Regions from separate parts of the Homo sapiens genome. Here regions 1 and 3 are each linked to region 2. The links are contacts of gene promoters, found by promoter capture Hi-C in human tissues and cell types (Jung and others, 2019). All regions are on one chromosome and are shown on one strand. The core of a region is centred on a gene start or on the middle of the fragment in contact, and the rest is flanking DNA. Distances in the headings are between cores, read along the strand shown.

What was found. The method cuts DNA at HindIII sites, captures the fragments that hold promoters and counts their contacts. A contact is called where the count stands out against the background at its distance.
Region 1: a contact is called between a fragment that was not itself captured here and the fragment with the promoter of PTPRR in region 2, in 2 of the 25 tissues and cell types used here (hippocampus and spleen).
Region 3: a fragment that was not itself captured here is called in contact with the fragment with the promoter of PTPRR in region 2 in 2 of the 25 tissues and cell types used here (dorsolateral prefrontal cortex and hippocampus).

The regions. Positions count from the first base shown.
Region 1 is chr12:70,882,415-70,886,215 of GRCh38, reverse strand. The region is part of intron 2 of PTPRR (protein tyrosine phosphatase receptor type R); the gene reads left to right. Among named protein-coding and RNA genes, the nearest start is that of PTPRR, 36 kb to the left of the region's middle. The HindIII fragment of the contact is 3,613 bases long and covers 1-3,302 here.
Region 2 is chr12:70,919,082-70,923,332 of GRCh38, reverse strand. It overlaps PTPRR (protein tyrosine phosphatase receptor type R), which reads left to right and starts at 2,595. Exons shown (of 14, transcript NM_002849.4): 1 at 2,595-3,000. The coding sequence starts at 2,943. The HindIII fragment of the contact is 3,890 bases long and covers 254-4,143 here.
Region 3 is chr12:70,979,930-70,983,665 of GRCh38, reverse strand. No RefSeq gene overlaps it. Among named protein-coding and RNA genes, the nearest start is that of PTPRR, 61 kb to the right of the region's middle. The HindIII fragment of the contact is 3,125 bases long and covers 521-3,645 here.

The DNA.
Region 1 (3,801 bases), core at 247-2,746, 36 kb after region 2:
GCTTGGCATCCTGACAGTCATAACTGTCACCATCTGTTGCTTTTCACCATTTCTAGCTATTAAAGCAGCAAGGACGATGCTGGAATGCACTCTGGAAAAGCTAGAGGCTAAGCCTCAGCAATGTCTGTGTGAGGTTACAACCCTGGACCACTCAGTGCATCTGCTTGTTTGGGATCATACACATTCACTATTAGGATGACTCAAGTCTTAAGAGAGCTGGTTTAATTGATTGTCATTAGGCCTTGCTCTCCAGGTGCAGTGAATGAGCAGGGAATAACTTAGTAATATTTTTGTTCTAATTCCAAAAATTATGCATTTTCATACAGTTGTAGAATATTTAGAAAGTTTAGATAAGGAAAAGCGGAAATAAAAACCATCCATAACCAGCCAGGCGTGGTGGCTCAGCGTGTAATTCCAACACTTTGGGAGGCCAAGGCTGGTGGATCACGTGGTCAGTAGATCGAGATCATCCTGGCTAACGGTGAAACCCCATCTCTACTAAAAATACAAAAAATTAGCCGGGCATGGTGGTGGGCGCCTATAGTCCCAGCTACTCGGGAGGCTGAGGCAGGAGAATGGCATGAACCCAGGAGGCAGAGCTTGCAGTGAGCTGAGATTGTGCCACTGCACTCCAGCCTGGGCAACAGAGCAAGACTCCGTCTCAAAAAAAAAAAAAAAAAATCCTTAACTGTTAAATAACTAAGGTAATCTTGCTCTCTCTATATATTCTTTTCTATGTACAGGTATGCATGTATTTTTTACAAAAGTATGAAATCTGCATATATGTGCTTTGTAATTTTTTAGTTTTATGTTTACATTATGGATGGCTTTCCAAGTCGTTAAGTATCATTGTACAGCATCACTTTTAACAGCTGCTAAAAATTTCATTGTATAGTAGCTTTCACATTTTATATATTGACTTATATTCCCAATACAGTCACTGATTTAAGGCCACTCATCCTGAGAAGGAGAAATAAATGATGACAATATCTAATATAGTATTATTTTCTAAGCAACTGCCCAATTAATATTACTGAGAGAATTTGGTGAGCTTATCTCAGGGAAAGCTACTTTCTTTATAAATTCTTCATATAATTGTAATATAGGATCTAATTTTTTTCATTTGGGCAAATTATGTACGTTTCAAAGATCTTAGACCTTAAATCTTAAGTAAAGTGAAATATTTAAAATAGCCAAAGGAGTAAACAGAACAAAAAAAGAGAATGTTCTGATTAGAAGATACAAAACATTCTATTTCAGAACTTATCTTTGAGGAAGAAGGACAGTGCTGTTCCTCTTTATGTTGGAGCCTGCAAAACTTTTTTTTTTTTTTTTTTTTTTTTTGAGACAGAGTTTTGCTCTGTTGCCCAGACTGGAGTGCAGTGGCACGATCTCGGCTCACTGCAAGCTCCGCCTCTCAGGTTCACGCCATTCCCTGGCCTCAGCCTCCGGAGTAGCTGGGACTACAGGCGCCCGCCACTACGCCCGGGTAATTTTTTTTTTGTATTTTTTAGTAGAGACGGGGTTTCACCGTGTTAGCCAGGATGGTCTCGATTTACTGACCTCGTGATCCGCCCGCCTCGGCCTTCCAAAGTGCTGGGATTACAGGCGTGAGCCACCGCGCCTGGCAAAAAAATTTTTAATCCAAAATTTCCACAATAATGTCAAAAAGGGGGATCTGCAGATAAACAAAAATAGTATCTTTTCTCTGGAGCAAATATTTACTTGGAGCTTTCAGTTCTCTCTAAAATTGCCTTTGGTTTTCCAGTTGTTAAGAACTGTTCTCCCGTATGCCTTTTGTTAATGACTTTGTCCCCTTTTCTTTCTTTCCTTCTTTGTCTATTTATCTGTAATCATAAGTGCCTGTAAATCATGCTTACTATCTTGTTACTATTCAATAGTTCAGTTAAAAATCTCACTGCTAATGGATGATTATACTGGGCTTTCGGGGCATTTGGCCCTGCTCCTGAGTGATGGGATTGGCACCACTTAGCAAAATGCTTAGGTTTCTCACTGTGATCCCTATGACTCAGGTGGTAGAAGCAACGTGTTTCTTTCTCTTTTTTTAGGAAAAATACAAAAGCTAAAAGTCCCTAGAAGGTTCTCTCCCTGGGCAAAGTTAAGAAGCTTAACTCCCAGTGCTAGTCTACAATTGGAATGTGAGTCTAGAGTTCAGACAGGTCACAGCCAAAGCTTTAGACCTGGGAGATATCCACAGACCCATGCATGGCTGTTAACACTGTTTGAGTGGGTGAGAGAATGCAGACAGAGGGAAACAATAGAATAGAATAAGCTATTACTGTGGCAGAAGTGGAAAGAGGACCAACACAGAGAAGGAACAGATGGAAATGTAGGAGCTTCATTGTATAAATTCTTCTGGCAATCTTGACCACTCAAAAGATTTCAGCCAAATATTAGATTTTCATGACAATCAAAGTCTGCTTCCTAACTAATCCTTTCATTTTTTTTCCTGGGAGGGTATAAGACCCCAGATCTGGCTGTGACATTATTAAGACATGTGAAATAAAACTCAGTATTTTAATAAAGTAACACGGTTTCTACTGACATTTAAAAAAACTCAAAAAATGAAAAGCACGAAGCTTTTCATTTAACTTAGTATAGTCCTTGGCACACAACAGTTCTTAAATACTTGCACCAAAAAGAAAGAAATTATCTGCAGGTTAAAGGAGAGAACTAGGGGGGAATGTGGAGAAATTATCAAAATAAGCCAAGGTCCTAGCTTAAGCTGTGTGAAGATATTGTTATTGTTAAGATATTATGCACACTTAGGTAATCATTCGGCTTACCAGAGAAGTGGTAAGACTGGGGAAAACATTGGAAGTAATTCAAAAATAGCCATAGCATAATACAGTGGCTCAAATCCTTGCTGTTTCCCCTCTAATTTTTATGTGACTTAAGTCTGTGTTTCATTATCTTTTTTATTGTTGTTTTTTGAGATGGAGTTTTGTTCTTGTCACCCAGGCTGGAGTGCAATGGTGAGATCTCAGCTCACTGCAACCTTCACCTTCTGGGTTCAAGCGATTCTCCTGCCTCAGCCTCCCCCGTAGCTGGGTTTACAGGCACCTGCCACCAGGTTCAGCTAATTTTTGTATTTTTAGTAGAAACAGGGTTTCACTATGTTGGCCAGGCTGGTCTTAAACTCCTGCTACCAGCCTCAGACTCCCAAAGTGCTGGGATTACAGGCATGAGTCACTTTGCCCAGCCTTCATTATCTTTTAAATGGGAGGATTAAAATTACCAACTTCATAGAGGTGTATAGATTAAATGATAAAACACATTGAATACTCTTACATGTCACCTAGTGAATAGTGAACACTCAATAAATAGTAACTATAGGAAGAGAAATGTTATTGCTATTTTATAGGCAAAGTATACATCAAAGTAACTCGTTAATATAACTGGGACTCAAACCAGTAGCGGAATAGATGAGGATCTGGAGCTTACAAACACTTGAGGATATGAAGCCTCTTTGGATCAGTGTTGGCAACAAGTAATATAAGCCTAAACATTAGAAAATGTCTGTCAAGGAAGACCAGCAATAGGTTTCAGATGAAGATTTTGGCAAATTAAAAAAAAAATGGGTCTTACTCAATCATCATATTCCCAGTCACTATGGGAGAATAAAGTTTTTATAAATAAATGTAAACACAGAGGCAAACTCTTGCGTCTTGCCGGACTGGCCTCCTTGACTCTTATTTCTTGTTTTTCACTTTTCTCCAAAGTGTTTAGTATGATAAGGGTGGGTCTCCTGGTGATGTTTTAGTCTAGAGTGTTCTTGGT
Region 2 (4,251 bases), core at 1,346-3,845:
TCATTGCTGTTTGACTTCACGAACAGCAATGAGTGAATTAGCCAATTAGTGAAAAAGTGAATTGAAGCCGTTACAAGTATGATATTAGATTGACTCACATAGGAATATGACCTTTTTCGTTACTTTATCATTTCTAAGTAAATTAATAATGAATGTCTAGTCACCAAAATTACAGCCCACTCAGGGTTATTTTTACCATGCTGAACTAACTATTCTAATGATATATCCAGCCAAATTGGAAATTGGAAATTTTTGCTGCTAACGGAATTTTCATGCATAGTTTAACAATTCAGCTACCTGCAGCCCTGAACAAAATACATTGCCAGCAGGATGCTTTTTGGCAAAGTCATAGTCAATTATAATAATGGGAATTTTAAATGCCCCACCAATAAATGTTGGAATTATCTGTGGAAAAGGAAGGGGTTCAGAACATTACTGCAGCATTGTTTCATTACCATAAGTAAGTATATTTTATTCTTGGAGATCTATGTAAGTTTGATAATTAGTTATTTTAGGAAACAAGAAAATAAGAAAAATAGACCTATTGTAAGTGGGATACAATTATTTTTCCCTAACCTCCAGCCCTGCAGCATTTCTAGTAACAGATGTTAGATGAGAAGAGTTATTCTTCTAAGCTTTACAGAATGCTAAATAAATTATCTCAAAGGTTGACTCAGTAAGAATTTCAAAGAGTTAATTGTCAGTATTGAACTTTGTCAACTATCATTTTCATTTATTCATTTTTGAGTATCTATTTTGCATGAGGCATTGCTCTAGGGAGTTGGGACATATCAATAAAGTCATCAAAGTTCTTCAACATTGGAGCTCAAATTCTGTTTTGCGGGGGGGAGTAGGGAAATAGATACTAAACAATAGATTTTATAAGTAATTATTTTGGTTTGTTAGAAAGTGATACGGGAAAAGCAAACTGGAGGACAGTGAATCAGGAATAGGAGAAGAGGTTGCAGCTTAGAGTGGTTTGGGATGAAATGATAGTGCCACAGAAATGGAGTGTGCCACACGCATGGGGGAGTAGGGGGTGGAGCACGTTGCTAGAGAGGGGCTAGACATGGAGATATGTCTCTATTTTCAGCAGAGAAGGCCTGTCAAGATATTAAAAGTACATCTCATTGTCCCCTTCTCCCACTTGTTGGAGTGCTTCCTGGCCTTGTCTCTCAGAGCTGAAGATGACATAAATCATAAAAGAAATAAATGGTACCGCCTGGGCTCTCTGATCTTATAAGGTCCCACCTAATTTAAGCTCTGGTGGATAGCCTATTTCCCATTAGTTGTCTCAATTCACAGAGGATGGAGAAAGAAAGCACTGAATGAGATGTGCAGCTCAACTCAATGGGCACTTGTTAGCCCCAATTATTTGGCTAGGACAACTTTATTCAAGTTAATGGAATACAAAACTCAGCAGTTCTTATGGAGACTTCAATGTGCTGTAGAACAAACCACAGATAAATGAACTGTCTGAAAGAATAATATGAGGCACGGCTAAACAAGTGTTGTGGAAGAGAAAGATCACTGTAATCTAGAGTTAGTTAGAGTTAGGGCTTTCTGGAAAAGTGAGACCAACATTACACCTTCGAAAACTAGTGTGGTGGTGGTGCAAGTGGAGGAAAATGGGAAAGAGGCAACAGTGTCCATAAAGACACAGAGGCAGAAAGGGCAGAGGCCCTGGGATAGTTAAAAGAGAAGTCTAGCTGAGGGACTTCTTGACTTGACTAGCAGCAATTAGCCATGACTAATAAGGCTTTCCACACTCCAAAGACTTAGATGGAGGGATAAAAAACCATCTAATGGCAGACTGTGGTAGCCTCCCTAGAGACACAGAGCTGGGCCGGATGAGTCCAGGCACTGACGTGATCCATTATCTTTCACCTTAAAGAGTAAAAGGGAAACTAAAGTTAATTACCTCCACGAAACAAAAAGGTGCCTTCTTGTGCTTCAATTACATGGATATATTCTACTAGTCTAAAAGTATCTTCTCACTTCTTTCTGTCACTGTGAGGACTTGAGTCAGAAGAAAGTTTAAATACAGTCATTGAGCTGGAAAGAGTGGAAAGAGAAGCAAAGAGGGGGAAGCTGTAGGAAGGACGAAGTCACCCCCAAGATACATGGTTACTGCTTACACCAAGCAAGCTGCCTTGGGAACGCTTCCCCCGAGCAGCCAGAATGCTCAGCAGTGGAAGACACCTCTATTCCTGTAGGCGAGTCCTGGGAAGCTGGTCAATCTGCAAATGCCAATTCCCAGCAGTGAGCTCGGTCCACGTGTAAATCAAGATTTGGGGAAAGAGTAGGGTGGGTGGCATGGTTGACAATGTCATCAGCTCCCTCCTCTGACTCCTGTGGTCGTGCCCCCATCTACTCTCACTCAGCTACACCCCACCTTCGGATTTGTGATGGACGCTGGGTCCCTAGTAACCACAGCAAGTGTCTCCCCCGCACTTCCCCCTTCCCCACCCCCACCCCCACCCCCAACCACCACCCCAGCGATGGAGCCTACTCTGCTCCAAGCCGCCGCTAAGACCCGGAGAAGCGGAATTTCACTTTGAAATTCCCTTGCCTCGTGAGGGCCGGCGCTGGGCATGCTCAGTAGCCGCGGCGCTGCTGCTGGGCTGCTGGGCTGGCGCGGAGTCCACCCTGCCGTCTCCGCCTTGGCTTCTGGGCGTCCAGAAGGCCAGGCATTTGCCGCCTCTGAGCGCTTCTGTTCCCCTTACCCGCAACCTCCTACTGCTCTTCCTCTCTCCCTCTCTTAGGGAGGTTGAAGCTGGTGCTGGTTTCTGTCGGCGCCACAGACTGACTGCTCTGCAAACCCCAGCCGAGGACCTGAATCCCGGAGACTAGAAGACCCTTGGCGGTGGCTCTTTCTAATAGCACTTTACCTGAAGTGGGGTCGTGGTGGAGTTTCTCCTCCACCTCTCAATGCAAACACTATGCGGAGAGCAGTCTGCTTCCCTGCGCTGTGCCTGCTCCTTAATCTTCACGCTGCAGGTAAGGGGTTGCCAGGCTTAGAGCCGGAGCTGTGCATGAGATGGGAAACTGCACATGCTTAAGGACTCTAGGAAAAGCTTGCCTTGCGAAGAAAGCCTTTCTAAAAAGGTAAAACAGGACAGTACCTGACAGGGAAGGGGTGAGGGAGTCGTGCACCTGTTGGAAAACTGAGGCCGAAAACTTAACCTAAAATTAGCTCTTGATTTTTCTTTACTTTATACGAAAATAGTGAACATTTTCAATATGAATACAGGTTTGCTCCCCCCTTCGCCTCCCCTCCGTCTAGATTCCCTGCTCTTGTTTCTAGGCTATGCACTTAACTGTCAATTTTTCAGGAGAGGGATAAGACATCCTGCTAGATGTAACCTTTTCTACTGCAGCGGCTACTACATTCATAAGGTCTCTTGGTCTAGCGAGCGCTCATAGGAAGGCATTGGCTGTAACCTGATGGACCACATCTCCGCCCAAAAGATCGAAATACATGGTTCACATTAGTGATGCTGCACCAGGCTCCTTTGGCCCCTGCTCTTGTCACTCGAATTTTCTAAGCCAATAAGAGGAAGAAAAGGTTTCAAATAGAATCCTCTTGTCTCTTTCAGCACCGTGGCTAGCGTCCGCTGGCATATTAAAAAAAAAAAAAAAAAAAAAAAAAAAAAAAACAATTACAGTTCCAAAGCTGACAACCCTGGGTTAGGCACTGTCCCTCGGACAGATTTGATAAGGTGTAACCAAGAGTAACAGTGAGACTGCTCCCAAATATAAATAGATTTGAGGCACCAGAATCAATATCAAGTCTCGTGAGGAAGCAAACCTTGGGAAGTACCTGAGAGATATTATATGTGGTGTCCCTGCTTTTTGCATACATAGCACCTCTATTTAATGCAGACAGACTTGCTAGGCTGAATTCCTTATCATTGTCACACACACATGAACCAAAATAAAATATGGCAGGGAGATTTTAGAAACCCTACTGTGACAGCAGTTGTCCATGCAGTAGTCCTGTAACAACCAGAGACGAGGCATTTTCCCTGAGTGTGCTTCTCATCCAATCACACATATCCATTCATTCCTTCAAGCAACATTTGCTGAGTGTATACTATGTTCTAGGGGTAATGAGTAAAAATAATTGTTCTGAAATTACAATCCTTGCAGTATCTTTTTTAAAAGAGTGGGTGAATTTTATTCTCTGTGTACAATAGTAGGAGTGAAATATGGTACTTTCTTATTCCAGCTAACGCTATTATTTAAATG
Region 3 (3,736 bases), core at 834-3,333, 61 kb before region 2:
AAATTATTTTTACCCTGCTACATATAGAAGGTTGTATGTAATAAACTATCTTAATGATGCAGTGGGTTCTGATAGCATAATTTATTAATTATATTGATTCAAGCTTGATTCATTTTGTTCTTATTTCCCTGCCATAGTCTGTGTTGGAATGTCTACCTCTTGCTTCAAAGTTCTGACCACTGATGTTTTTTAGGTTTCTTTTGTTTACTCAGGGAATCACTGTGTAATGCTTTGTGCTACAAATTCCCTGCCCACAGTATAACTGGTTGTTAACTTTTCTCCTCTTCCATGCCTTTGTGAAGGATTGGGTTTCTTATTGCAGAAAGGAGTTTCTCTGGCTGTAGTTTAAATTGAAACAGCCCTCATTCTCCTACTCACCAATTTGATCTTCCTTTCACCTTCTGGGTAATACTATGGCACTTGCTACGTAATGCCATTAAAAGCTCTCCAGGCCACAGAAGCTCTAAACATTACTGTTAATCACTTAACAACTGACATCATGTGCATTCCAACGGCACTGGTTGACTTCCTTTTATAATTATCAGAGGATACATGGGAAATGCTGAAGTTTGAGAAAGACTTGTATTTCAAGCTCCAAATCCTCTACCCCAAGCTGAGATGAGCAGTTAATTTTGGTAAGCCTTTGGGGAAATCAACAGCTCTGGAAGTTTTGATATTGACATTATCATTCCCTTACGATGAGGGAGTTTGACTAATGGCTTATCCAAGACTGGAAATTGGAGAAGAAAAACGTAAAGGCAAGATTCTCTCCAGTCGCCACTCTCATCCTCAATCCCCAGGCCAAGATGCAATGTTTACGCAATTATCTTCTTATGAGAAAGATAAAATCTGATGAAAATACAATTTTAAGCAAGTGCTAGGCCTGCCTTTTCTTCTTAACCTAATTTGTAATTGTTCACAATTATTTTCTAAAAGCTTCATGCAATTCAACATTCAATTTAAAAAGCAACATCTAATAAGCCATTAAGCCAGGTTATATGATTTTAAGACAGCACAAATTTACTTGCTGGGGATTAGGTATCTATGCAGAGAGGCTTGTTCATTCTCAGGCATCTCCCAAATTATAATTCTACCATTATTATTTTCCAAATATTTGGCATTCTGCAGACTGGCTGGGAGGTCTAGTTATTGCTCTTTGTGTCAACTCCTCAGTTTCTCTTATGGCCAAATGCAGATAAAACTCCCACGCAGTCTAACATCATTGCAGTGACTCATAACTAGCAATTCTTGTTTTAAAGCACTTACCAATTAGAAGGATTTTATACAAATTACAGTTTATTTTAGAAAAGAAATAAGCTAGCATATGGAAAATATTGGATACGATGGTAAAATATGTACCATACCACCTGCTTTGTCTAAAAATCTCTCAAATAAAGAAATGCAAATTTAAAGTGATTATTCCCTAAAACTAAACACATAAAAAGACTTGATTAGCTATTTGTCTATCTATTAGAAAGTAATCACCTCTTAATGCTTGCAAAAATAAACAAGAAAAACCTGCTTATACTATGTCACAGACATACAGGCTCAGAGAATAAGGAGAAACTACAAAGCAGGAGAAACAAATCCACTTTCCCTTTTCTCTTCCTCCCGCCCCGCCATGCCCACCCAGGGTGATTGGTTACAGCTGAAATGTATGGGCTGCTTATGCCAAGTCTATGGGCTCAACTGAAGGAGATGATGATGTTCATAATACTTCACATTTGTATAGCATATTATGCCTTCCAAAGGGCTTTCACGTAGACTGTTTCATTTAGAGAAAAGCTTTGCACAGATGTTTTGTGGACTTGCAAGCATTAAAATTGCTAATTCTGATTAAGTTTGTCGAATATTTCAAGTTCTGTTTCACTCTTATTTTATCCTAAATCTGGTTCACAAGGAGATTTTATTATGCTAATATAAAGTGACAGTCATTGTCCCATGATTGAAGCTCTTCCTCAAATGCAATCATAGAGAGTTTGAGTTAGAAAGAACTTTGGAGGAATTGTATCCTAACCATTTGATTTTGTAGATGTAATACCAAGGTTTAGAGAGACTTCATGATCTGCTCAGGGCCAGGCTTGGGTTTCTGCCTTGCAATGTGGAAGGTTTGCTGTTATCCCCTAAAGAGTGCCCTCCTGACTCTTGTCTATGTGGGGGAGAATAAAAACTTCAGGGAGAAAATGATGAAGCAAACCAAGCTCTAAACAGCATAGTGTTTTTGAAACGTTTATTTGTTTTTACCCTTCCAGTGTTTTAGAAATTTTTTTTCTGAAGGAGATTCATTGAATATTTAAAGTAGATACACTCCTTTTATTTTTGTCCAAAATTACCAAATGTCTTTTTCATTTTTTTCATTAAACCAAAGATCTTTAGATTCCTAATCAAATGCTATTTTCACTTTTTTCTCATTAAATTCTTATAAAAAATGTTTTGTTTTTTGTTTTAAAGCAAAGCAAGCATTTAGCCACATTTTAGAGTAAAGAAATCTCATACTCAAAGAAGATACATGAACTGTATAAGGTCACATAGCTGATTAGTGAAATTCATAAGAATAGAAACCACTTTGTATGATTTTAAGTACAGTTTTTGTTTTGTGTTTTGTTTTTTACAACTCATTACTCCTGGCCCTGAAATAGAGTTGAAGATCATCAGATTTTCCTCAAGTTATATTTTTGACATCTTCCTAAATGGCTTGTATAAGGTAATCAATATATGCATTAAATTTGATTCAAACTGAAGTTTGTAATACACATACTTATTTGTAAAAATGCCTGACTGTAACATTATGAGTTTATTTTTAATATTATTCCTTATTTCTAGAATTTCTAAAGTGAGGTTGGGTGCAAGAATTTTGTATAACATGAATGTATTAAATTCTAAACCAAAGATTTTACGTTTATATTAGATATGGAGTCACAAGGTTGTAAAAGACCCTAACTGGAAAGCGAGTTTCTAGCATTTAGTATGTGTGTATCATATGCCATATCTTATTTCCTCAGTGTAAATAACCATAGCAAACCTGAGCGTTCCCTAATCTTATCTCCTTTTTTAACAATAAGGAAACTGAGGCTCAGAAAACTGAAATAACTTGCCCAGAGTCCCATCTCTACATGATTCTGAAGTTCATGCTCTCTTGGGAGTATTTCTGATCTTTCTCAAAAAGCATACCTGAACTACAAAGAAGCACATCTCAATACATATAGAGAACTATTTCACTCAATTCTGAGAAAAAAAAACACTTGCTTTTGGCTGGATAGACCTGTAAAGATGTCTCTTTAGTTACATTCCTACTCATTTTGTGCCAACAAAATACAACATATTCCAGAATACATGGCTAATATTACATAGTGGTCTCTTTCAGACTAATAGGATTCATCTTATTTTTAATTGAGTTATAAAAAGCATCCTTTTCCTAATGGTTAATTTGTCTTTATTAAATTATATTATTAAGTATGAGTTAATAAGAACAAATTAACCATTATTATATAAGCATATATGCTTATGTATTAGCATATTTATTAATAAGTTAATTTCTTAAAGAAATAAAACTTGCATTTTGTGCTGAGTTTATTGTCATTTACATCATGACATAGAAGTTCACTGCTCAAAAAAATCAGTGAAGATTATGACAAATAGCTGAAGATATACATTATCAGACACAATTATATTTGTTATGCATCTCTAAGTTTAACCTCTGAAGGTTAGCACTGTTATTGCCTGTATGTGCTTTCAT